Regions from separate parts of the Homo sapiens genome. Here region 1 is linked to region 2. Evidence: promoter capture Hi-C in human tissues and cell types (Jung and others, 2019). All regions are on one chromosome and are shown on one strand. Each heading gives the region's core, a stretch centred on a gene start or on the middle of the fragment in contact. The rest is flanking DNA. Distances are from core to core; before and after follow the strand shown.

Region 1 (5,047 bases), core at 1,164-3,663, 190 kb before region 2:
TTGTCTGTCCAGCCCATTAAAAATGAGGGTAGGTAGGTTTTGTCACTTTTGTTTACTGATATATCACTGAACTAATATATCTGTGTATAGATATATTCAGTGTCTAAAGGAATACTAGGACACATTAGGAACTCACTAAATGTCTGTTGAATTAGTGTAAAATACATCTCATAAATAATAACATGGTGGAATGAGACTCACCACTGGAATCAACCAACGAATGGTGTATTGTAGAAGTAGTACAACCGTTTGCCAATATTTTGTTCTCTCCTTTTTGGCACATAGAAGCTGCACGTTCTGCTCCTTTGCAGTTGGCTGGGACCACATAGCTAATTCTGGCCATTGAAATGTGACCATAAGTAATGTATATCAAGTTTGATATGAGGCAATAAAAAGCCCATGCATGCTTCTTCGGTCTCTATCCCCTGCTGAAGCAACTAGGGAGTGGTCATTTCAGATAGTATAGATACAGAATGGCAGGACCTTTGACAGCCTGAGTCCCTGAGTGACTATGCAAAACAGGACCTTCACTCCACACCCCCCACCCCCACAACAAGAGTAGGACATAAAATGCCATCAAGAAATCAAATTTTGTTGTATTAAGGCACTGAAACGTTGAATCATTTGCTATCAAAACATAATTAGTCTACTCTGATTAATACAGGCTTCCATACCGAAAGTTGGGAGTCTGTGTAAAAAGCAACCAAATATGTGGCACTGACTTCACAGTTAGATGGCCATTGGCAAGACAACTAATATCAGAGGCTACAAAGGTTGTGATTCATGTTATATTGTAACCAAATATTTAGTAAAACTGTCACCTATGTAACTTGGGAAGTAGATCATATTTAAGTGAAGCTGGCACTCAAGGGGAAAACATAATGTTGGAGTGTTTGTTTAGTGATGTTTGTCATGTTTGGCTAGATACTATAAGAAATAAGCCAAGGGAAGAATTTCCCAGTTTGAAAGCAGAAATGAAAGGAAATGGGGAAATTTAAGAATTAGAACTTTGCAGGATTGAAAAGCCAATTGCTTCTGGACACCATATAGTAAAACTTAAGAGTCAAAAAGCAATTTCAGGATAGATGCCAATAAAATCTTTCAACAAATTATATTACCTAAAGGCAAGGATCAAATCAAGGATATATTGCTCAGTAAATCTTTTTCAATTGTATAAAACTACTCATGGCAGATATTAAGGGTAAAACTTGTCCGCAGACATGTGACAGCCTGGAGCAAGAGAACTGGGGGAGCAAAAATGGAAAGAAACATACCAGATATGATAAATTTGTCTCAAAGAAACTGTGAGATCTTTCACTTCTCTTTCCTTCCCTTATTGAAGAGTTTGATTCTAACACCTTTAGGTAGGCAGAGCAAGACGGACCTCTGTACCTGATGCGGAGGTGGAGGGAGCCTCAGTAGTGCAGTGGAGGGCATTGAACTGAGCTGAGTTAAGAGAGCACCTGTCTAGGAGGGCCACTTGGGTCTGAGCCTGGGTGGGTGAGAAGAATGTCCTCTTGGAGGAGGGCAGGGAGCATCTTGGCGAATGTTCAAAGCCTGAGGAAGGAGAGAAGAGAGTCTACATGGAGGGTGGCCAGGCATGGGTATCAGAGGACATTCATGTGGAAGACACAGATGGGGTGGGTGGGGAATCAGGCACAGGGTGGCAAAGCTTGAGCAGGGTGAAGAAGACATCCACGTGGAAGGAGGTTTACGGTGAGTTTCAAAGCCTGAGAAGAGTGGAAAGGGCATTCCCACAGAGGTGACGGCCAGTGTGAGTGTTAGACACAAAGAGGGTGTTCACATGAAGAAGGGATGGTAGCAATGAATGGTTGGTCATGTACTGGGGATTGATGAAATAAGGATAATGAGAGATAGTTTTGTCATTGTCAGAGAAAGGCATTACAAAAATGAAAAGGGAGAATACCAGAATGAGCCCTGTGGTGCATCCTTGTGAACTTTTGGAGATTATATAGGTACAGTTGGCCCTCCTTTTCTGTGGGCTTCACATCAGCAGGTGGATATGGGAGGCCAACTGTACAAATTTTCCATCCAAAATTGCTTGAATCTGCAGGTGTGGAACCTGCAGATAGAGTGCTGACCCCATTTTATATAAGGGATTTGAACATCTGTGGATTTTGGTATGTGTGATGGGTCCTGGAATCAGTTCCCTGCTGATACAGAGGGCTGACTGTATACATTATATACATATACATAAATGTATGTGTGTGTATGTATATATGCATAATGGATTAGATATACATGAATGAATTTAGATGTAAATATATATGCATACATACATATATTCCCTAACTCTCCCCTGATAGAGCCTAGGAACAATAACACAAATAGCAATGCACATACCAGGTGCCTAGATCATGGCTTCTAAATACGTATGCTTTACTAAAAGGAACCAGGACTCTTTGGAGAAATGGTAGATTCCAGTGCTGAGGCAACAAAATTACAAGATGAATTTGGAATGTCTTGTCCTAGAAAACAAGGAATAGCTCAAAGAATGATAAAGGTATGTCAAACGGACATAGAAGCCTATCTGAAGAGGCACTCACTGGTCAGATCTAGCACAATTTCATTATCAAAATAAACAATGATGGCAACTAATTATAATCCATTGAATAAAATGGAAACCATATGTATTCCTGACACAAATTAATCAATAAATAAATTGAAAGTTTGATAATGGATATATATGTAGTTCCAAAGTAACTTCCCACAGCACTTTAATTAAATACAAATGGAAAAAGAATGACTTTGTTGTGGAGAAGCATGGCAGATACCATCTCATTCAAGTAACCAAAGTGAAAAAATTGGAATCTGTGTCATCTAATGGCATGTGACAAGAAGAACACAGGATCGCTTATGTGATATTCCTGCCAAAATGTACAACTTGAATCTAATAAAGGGGAAACATGAAACAAATGCAAATTGAAAAACACAGTAAAAAGTAACTGGTCTGTAGTCTTCAAAAGTGTCAAGCTAATGAAAATCAAGAAAAGACTGAGAATTGGGCCAGAGTGAGGGACTCTGGGAAGACAAGACAGTGAAAAGCAACTCATGATTCCAAATTGAATTCTTTTGCTGTAAACAACACTTTTGAGACATCTGGCAAAATTTGAGTGTGTCTGAAGATTAAATGATAGTGATGCATCAATGTTAATTTCTTGATGTTGCAGGTTGTGTCTTGGTTTATAGGAGAAAGTCCTTATTAGTAGGAACTGCATGTACTAGGGGACAAAGGAGCAACACATAGGCAATTTACTCCCAAACATCTCAGGAAAAATAAACTGCTTTGTACCATACCTGCAAATTTTCTGTAAGGTTAAAATTGTTTCAAAACAAAATATTAATAAAAAAGAAAGAAAATGAAAAAACATTTGTAAGTATGGCACGTAAAGATGAGTGGATCAAAAAGAAAGATGCTTAGTGAAATAAGCCAGGCACAGAAAGACAAACACCAGATGACTTCACTCATATGTGGCATCTAATAAAGGTGATCTCACGAAAGTGGAGAGTAGAATGATGGCCACCAAGGGCTGGGGAGAATTGGGGCACTGTTGGTCAAAGGCCACAAAATTCAGCTAAATAGGAGGAATACAGTCAAGCAATCCATTGTACAGCCTGACAACTGTACTTGATAATATATCATATTCTTGAAAAATGCTAAGAGAGTGGCTATAAATTTTTTCGCACCACAAAAATGATGAGTATGTGAGGTGATATGGTTTGGCGCTGTGTCCTCACCCAACTCTCATCTCAAATTGTAATTCCCATGTGTTGAGGGAAGGACCTGGTGGCAGGTGATTGGTTTCTCCGCATGGTTCTCATAATAGTGAATGAGTTTTCATGGGATCTGATGGTTTTAAAGTGCTTGGCAGTTCCCCCCTTGCCCTCTCTCTCTCCTGCCACTGTGTAAGATGTGTCTTGCTTCCCCTTCACCTTTAGCTATGATTATAAGTTTCCTGAGGCTTCCCCAGCCATGCAGACCTGTGAGTCAATTAAACCTCTTTTCTTTATAAATTACATACCCTCAGATCATTCTTTATAGCAATATAAAACTGGACTAATACATGAGGTAATGCATATGTGAGTTATGTAATCAAGTGACATGTATCACTTCTGTGTAGGCAGTGAAAAGTCCAAATACTCTTCTCCAATATCTGTTTCCCTGCTGTGGTGATTGAAGAAGTCATGTATTCCGGGTTGCTATAGCTATGAGATGGCAGGTTCTCTATCGGCCTGGGTCCTGAGTGTTACCAGGGAGTCAGACACCTAATTGAACATAAAAATTAAGTAAGCAGATTTAAAAACCCCTTTTTAAAATTGAGCCACTAAGTTTGTGGTTGTTCATTACAGTAGTATAATCTATCCTATAGAGACACTCAATTCAAAGAAAGGAATCTGGATAGAGGGAAGGTAGAAGACATGAGTATCTGATTAGAGATCAAAGAAGAGGTCTAAGAGTGACATTTTGTGACACACTACTACAAATTAGCCAAAGAGATAGGGGACATGGATTTCTGCTGTCAATAACACACTAACATGGCAACAAGACACAGAAATTTTTGCTTTCTTTAGGCTTAGGGCCATGTAAAAGGAAGGTGTTCTTTGTGGGGTTTTTTTTTTTTTTTTGGTTTTGGCTTGTTTGTTTGTTTGTTTGTTTTTGAGAGGGAGTCTTACTCTATTGCCCAGGCTGGAGTGCAGTGGCTCTATCTTGGCTCGCTGCAACCTCCACATTCCGGGTTCAAGCGATTCTCCTGCCTCAAGTTCCCAAGGATCTGGGACTACAGGCGCGGGCCAGGAAGCCCAGCTAATTGTTTGTATTTTTAGTAGAGACAGGGTTTCACCGTGTTAGCCAGGATGGTCTCGATCTCCTGACCTCATGATCCGCCCACCTCAGCCTCCCAAAGTGTTGGGATTACAGGCATGAGCCACCATGCCCAGCCCAGGTGTTCCCTTTTGATTCCTGGTCCCTTAAATGCTTGAATTCTTAGCTCCTGAAGTAGATCTCCTACTAATTCTTGGTTCTTTG
Region 2 (4,668 bases), core at 508-3,007:
GTATCCTCAAGGCTAAGAAGAAAAATATTTTTCACCTAATTCTATAGCAAGTAAATTTATCATCTATTTAGGAAGAAAAAATATGTACTCAGTCTAATACTGGTCCCCTCTGAAAGAGCTACCAAAGACTTTACAAGATAAGAAACAAATTGAGTAGTGAGGAGTAGGTTTTAGAAACAATATTGGTTAAAGAAACCAAGGTAACAAACAATATTGCCTAATTGTGAGTGAGGCAATATGTTCATATGAACTGTTGACACATGCAATAACTTGGATGGACATCGTGGACGTTACGCTGAGTGGGAGAAAAAAGCCAATCTCAAAATTTACTCCCATGCATAAATAGTAGTAGTTGGGGTGGTGATAGTAGTAGTTGCTAATTATTTAGTGCTTAAACTAAGTGTCAGAAACTGTTTTTAAATGTTGTACATGTATTAATTCATTTAATCCTATGAGTACTTAGCACAGTACTAATAATACTTGTGATCTTCAAAACTAAATCTTACAAATTGGCACAGGGTCTGGGCATCCAGGCTTAGAAAGAGAGATGAAGTTAGATTTATGTTACAGAGCTGAAGTAACAGTCACATGACAAATATGAAGGTTCCAGAGGGAAGGGCATGAGGCATGAGAGAAAGGTCTCCAATATGTAGTCAGTAAAATATTATTCAGCACTAAAGAAATAAGCTATCAAGCCACAAAAAGACAGAGAAACTGAAATCCGTATCGCTAAGAGAAAAGCCAATCTGGGACAGCTACACACTGTATGATTGCAGCTATGTGACATTCTGTAAAAGTCAAAACCATGGAGACAGTAAGAAAACCAGTGGTGACCAGGGGTTAGAGGGGAAAGAAGGATTAATAGGCCTAATTATTCATATACACCCATATATTCCCTTTCATGTTACAGGCATTTGGCATAGCAGAAGTTACAGCAACATTTACTGTATTGGTGAATTAAATAATGTTTATGATAATGACGAGTTAATGAACCATATCCCCTTTCCCTAACTCAGAGCAAATAGTCCTTCCCCATTTATTAGATATCCTTTTCAAACCGATAAAAGATCCAGCTGGGAAAAGTGGCTCATGCCTGTAATCCCAGCACTTTGGGTGGCCGAGGAAGACAGACCACTTGAGCCCAGGAGTTCAAGACCAGCCTGGGCAACATGGTAAGACCCCATCTCTACAAAATACAAATTAAAAATATTAGCCAGGTGTGGCAGCATGCACCTGTAGCCCCTAGGCCCAAGGCAGAAGGATGGCTTGGGCCCAGGAGTTCGAGGTTGCAGTGAGCTATGATCACGCCACTGCACTCCAGCCTGGGCAACAGAGCAAAACCTTGTCCAAAAAAAAAAAAAAAAGAAAAAAAAAGAATTCTCAATCACCCACCAGTTCTCTGCATGGTGTCCACTGACAATTTGTTCTCTTGTTTGGAGTTGTCGTGAGACTTCAGATTTTCTGAGGAAAGCCTATCCATAGAGTCACTTGGGGTATTTTTACACTATGACTTCAAGGACCACAGCTGTTTCAGAACTAAGAGGTTTTCCATTCCCAAGGGTCACCAGTAACATGGAGAGAGAAGGAATCTCAAAGAATACCCGAGTAACACCCAGTTAACAGAGGCTGTGGAATTATCTAATTGTCAGTTAATTGTACTACTGTTTATTGCCTCTTCAAATCTCCACCCCAAGATAAGCCAATTTACGAGGAAAACAGACTGATGAAAATAAATGTGTTCACAGACAAGGAACAAAAACATTTTACACAGCCACAAGAGCCAGTTAAGAACTCACAGGTACTTTTCCAGCCACCCAGATAGGAGAGATCATTAAAACAGGTGAGTAAGCAAAACTATGGAGACTGCCTTTCTCTATTTCTAATCTTGCCAGTGGTCAGTGGAGGGCAGGGAAGAACAAAGCAAAAGAAATTAGAAAGACTGTGTCTGCTGAGGGGTTCTCTCAAGTCAGAGAAAGATAAGAAAAGGGAGAAAGCTCAGAAGAAAGTGTGGGAAACAAAAAAAAAAACTGATAGTGAGAGCCTCTCTTACTGACAAGGATAGGCTGGTTTTGACGGTGAGACAGCATCAAGATAAAATATTTCTCTAATAACCAACCAGCAAAAGTCCCCAGTGCTTTGTGGGAAGCAAGCATGGATACAGTCACTCAACCTAACATCTAGTTGGAGAGAGGAAGAAGGACATCAAAAATACCTGTTTACAACTGATATTTCTTTGCCTTGTTTTATGTATGACATTGTTTGGGTGGAAAATGTATGAATATGTCACAGGAATTCAAAATACGGGAGAGATCGTTGTGGTCTAGAGTTATGCTGGAAAGTTTCCTGTAGAGATTGCCCCTGAGCTGGGGATTCACTGACTATAGAGTCTAGATTGGTGCAGGGGCAGGCCACCCCAGGTGGGCAGTAGGATGAGTCATAAACAAAGCCAGAAAAGCAGGAAGGATTCTTTTTTAATTTTTGTCTTTGAGTATGTGTGTATCCATGTATTGTGCTTTGTATGTATATTTTTAATTTACATAAAAATGTGATAAAGATTTATGTTTATTTCTTTCTTCACTTAGAGCTGTTTTTAAGAGCTCTTCATATTACAGGTAAATCTAGTGAGTTGTATCTAACTGTTGGATAGTATCCCACAATACACATCCACTACATGTTTCTTAACCATTTCATAGTAATACATATTAAAGTCTATTTAATTCCCTACAATTACAGCTATACATATAATCAACTGAAAACAAACTTTGTATGTGATTCTTTATGGACCTGACTGAGAAGTCCTCTGTGATGTATCCAGAATGAATTGCTTGGACATAGGGCATAGATAAACACAAACTAACAGAAATATTGCCATTCTGCTTTCAAAACGATCATGTTAATTTGTACTCTTACATAGCACAGCAGAGTTATGTATAAAGATCCAATCTATATTGTGACCTAGTTCAGCTTAAGTCCATAACAGGAGGATTGTTTAGCTTTAGAAAATATACGAATGTAATACATCACATTTAAACATAAAAGTTTAAAAATTCATATAATTACCTCAATGAATCAGAAAAGGCCTTTGTCAATAACTCAACTTCCATTAGTAATAGAAACACTTCACAAACTTTCTTAAAAGAGAACTTCCTCAATCTAATAGAAGGCATTAAGAAAAGCAAATATCACAAATCCAACATCATATATTTAATTACACATAGTAAAATGTTGAAACTAACTATGAAAACAAGGCAAACGTACCCAATATGGCCACTTCTAATCATCTTTGTTCTCTATGTGTGCCTATATAAAAGCACTATTAAAATAAAGCACTTGCATTTCTACACATCAGCCACAGATATTTGTTTGGAAAATGAAATAAAAAGAAAAACATATAGAATGTGCATATATATGGATATATATATACACACACACATAAACACATATACATAGATGTGTGTATAGTTTATATTTATAATTATAAATAAAATTTATGTTTCCCAAAATAGTAGACTTGCTTATAGTCTCCTTTTGAGAGCAACTAGAAAAGCTAGAGGATGTTATATTTGATCTGTTAAGCGTCAGAGAGCAACTGGGGCAGTGAGGGGTTGAGAGATCTAGATTCTAGAGAGAAAGCAAGAGAGGAACAAAGGGCAGTTAGGGAAATAGAAGGAAAATGAGGTAACATATTCAAAGTGCTGATGCTTTTAACCACCAAAAACAAAAATAAATAAATAACACTTGTCAATCTAGAATTGTATAGCCCGCAAAAGAAACCCTCAAAATGAAAGCAAAATAAGATTTTTTAAAATGTAACCTTGAGAATTTGTCACTAGAAGATGTCTTACAGAATATTAAAGATAGTTCTTGAAGCAGAAGATAAATTCTCCCAAATGACAGTAGAGAACGGCAAAGAAGAATGAAAAAGAAGGAAACTAAATGTACAAATATAAATGAACAAGGATTTTATATATATATATATATATATATATATATATATATATATGTATTATATATAATATATTGTGGTGTTTTAAATATTCCTAGAATTAAACCAGTCAGTGGTGAGTGCCTATAGTCCCAGCTACATGGGAGGCTAAGGTAGAAGGATCACTTGAGCCCAGTAGTTCCAGTCCAACCTAGGCAGCATATTTCTTTTCCATCTCTAAAAGAAATAAAATAAATATTTCTAGAACTGAAATGCCTGACTATAGCAAGAAAATGTGAAAGAGTTAAATGTAAATGGAGTACAGTTTTCTAAGGTCCCTCATTTCCTAATAATTAGTAAAAGTACCAATTTATATTAGACTTCATTAAGTCAAAGATGCATATTGAAATTTCCAAAATAGAGTAGAAATTATTAAAGTAGTTTTTATAACAAGCTAAATGAGAATGGAAATAGAATAATTTTAGAGTTTTTGACTAATACACAAGAGGTCAAAAAGGGGGCCGGGCACGGTAGCTCATGCCTGTAATCCCAGAACTTTGGGAGGCTGAGGCACGCAGATTACTTGAGGTCAGGAATTCGAGACCAGCCTGGCCAACATGGTGAAACCCCGTCTCTACTAAAACTACAAAAAATTGGCCAGGTGTGGTGGCTCACGCCTGTAATCCCAGCTACTCAGGAGGCTGAGGCACTATAATTGCTTGAACCCAGGAGACAGAGGTTGC

What was found. Contacts are between HindIII fragments. The study calls those that stand out against the background at their distance.
Region 1: a contact is called between a fragment that was not itself captured here and the fragment with the promoter of NXPE1 in region 2, in 2 of the 25 tissues and cell types used here (dorsolateral prefrontal cortex and liver).

What each region holds. Positions count from the first base shown.
Region 1 is chr11:114,746,484-114,751,530 of GRCh38, reverse strand. It overlaps a transcript of NXPE2 not described here. Among named protein-coding and RNA genes, the nearest start is that of NXPE2, 70 kb to the right of the region's middle. The HindIII fragment of the contact is 3,238 bases long and covers 795-4,032 here.
Region 2 is chr11:114,556,970-114,561,637 of GRCh38, reverse strand. It overlaps NXPE1 (neurexophilin and PC-esterase domain family member 1), which reads left to right and starts at 1,757. Exons shown (of 9, transcript NM_001395504.1): 1 at 1,757-1,840. It also overlaps a transcript of NXPE2 not described here. The HindIII fragment of the contact is 13,622 bases long and covers 1-4,668 here.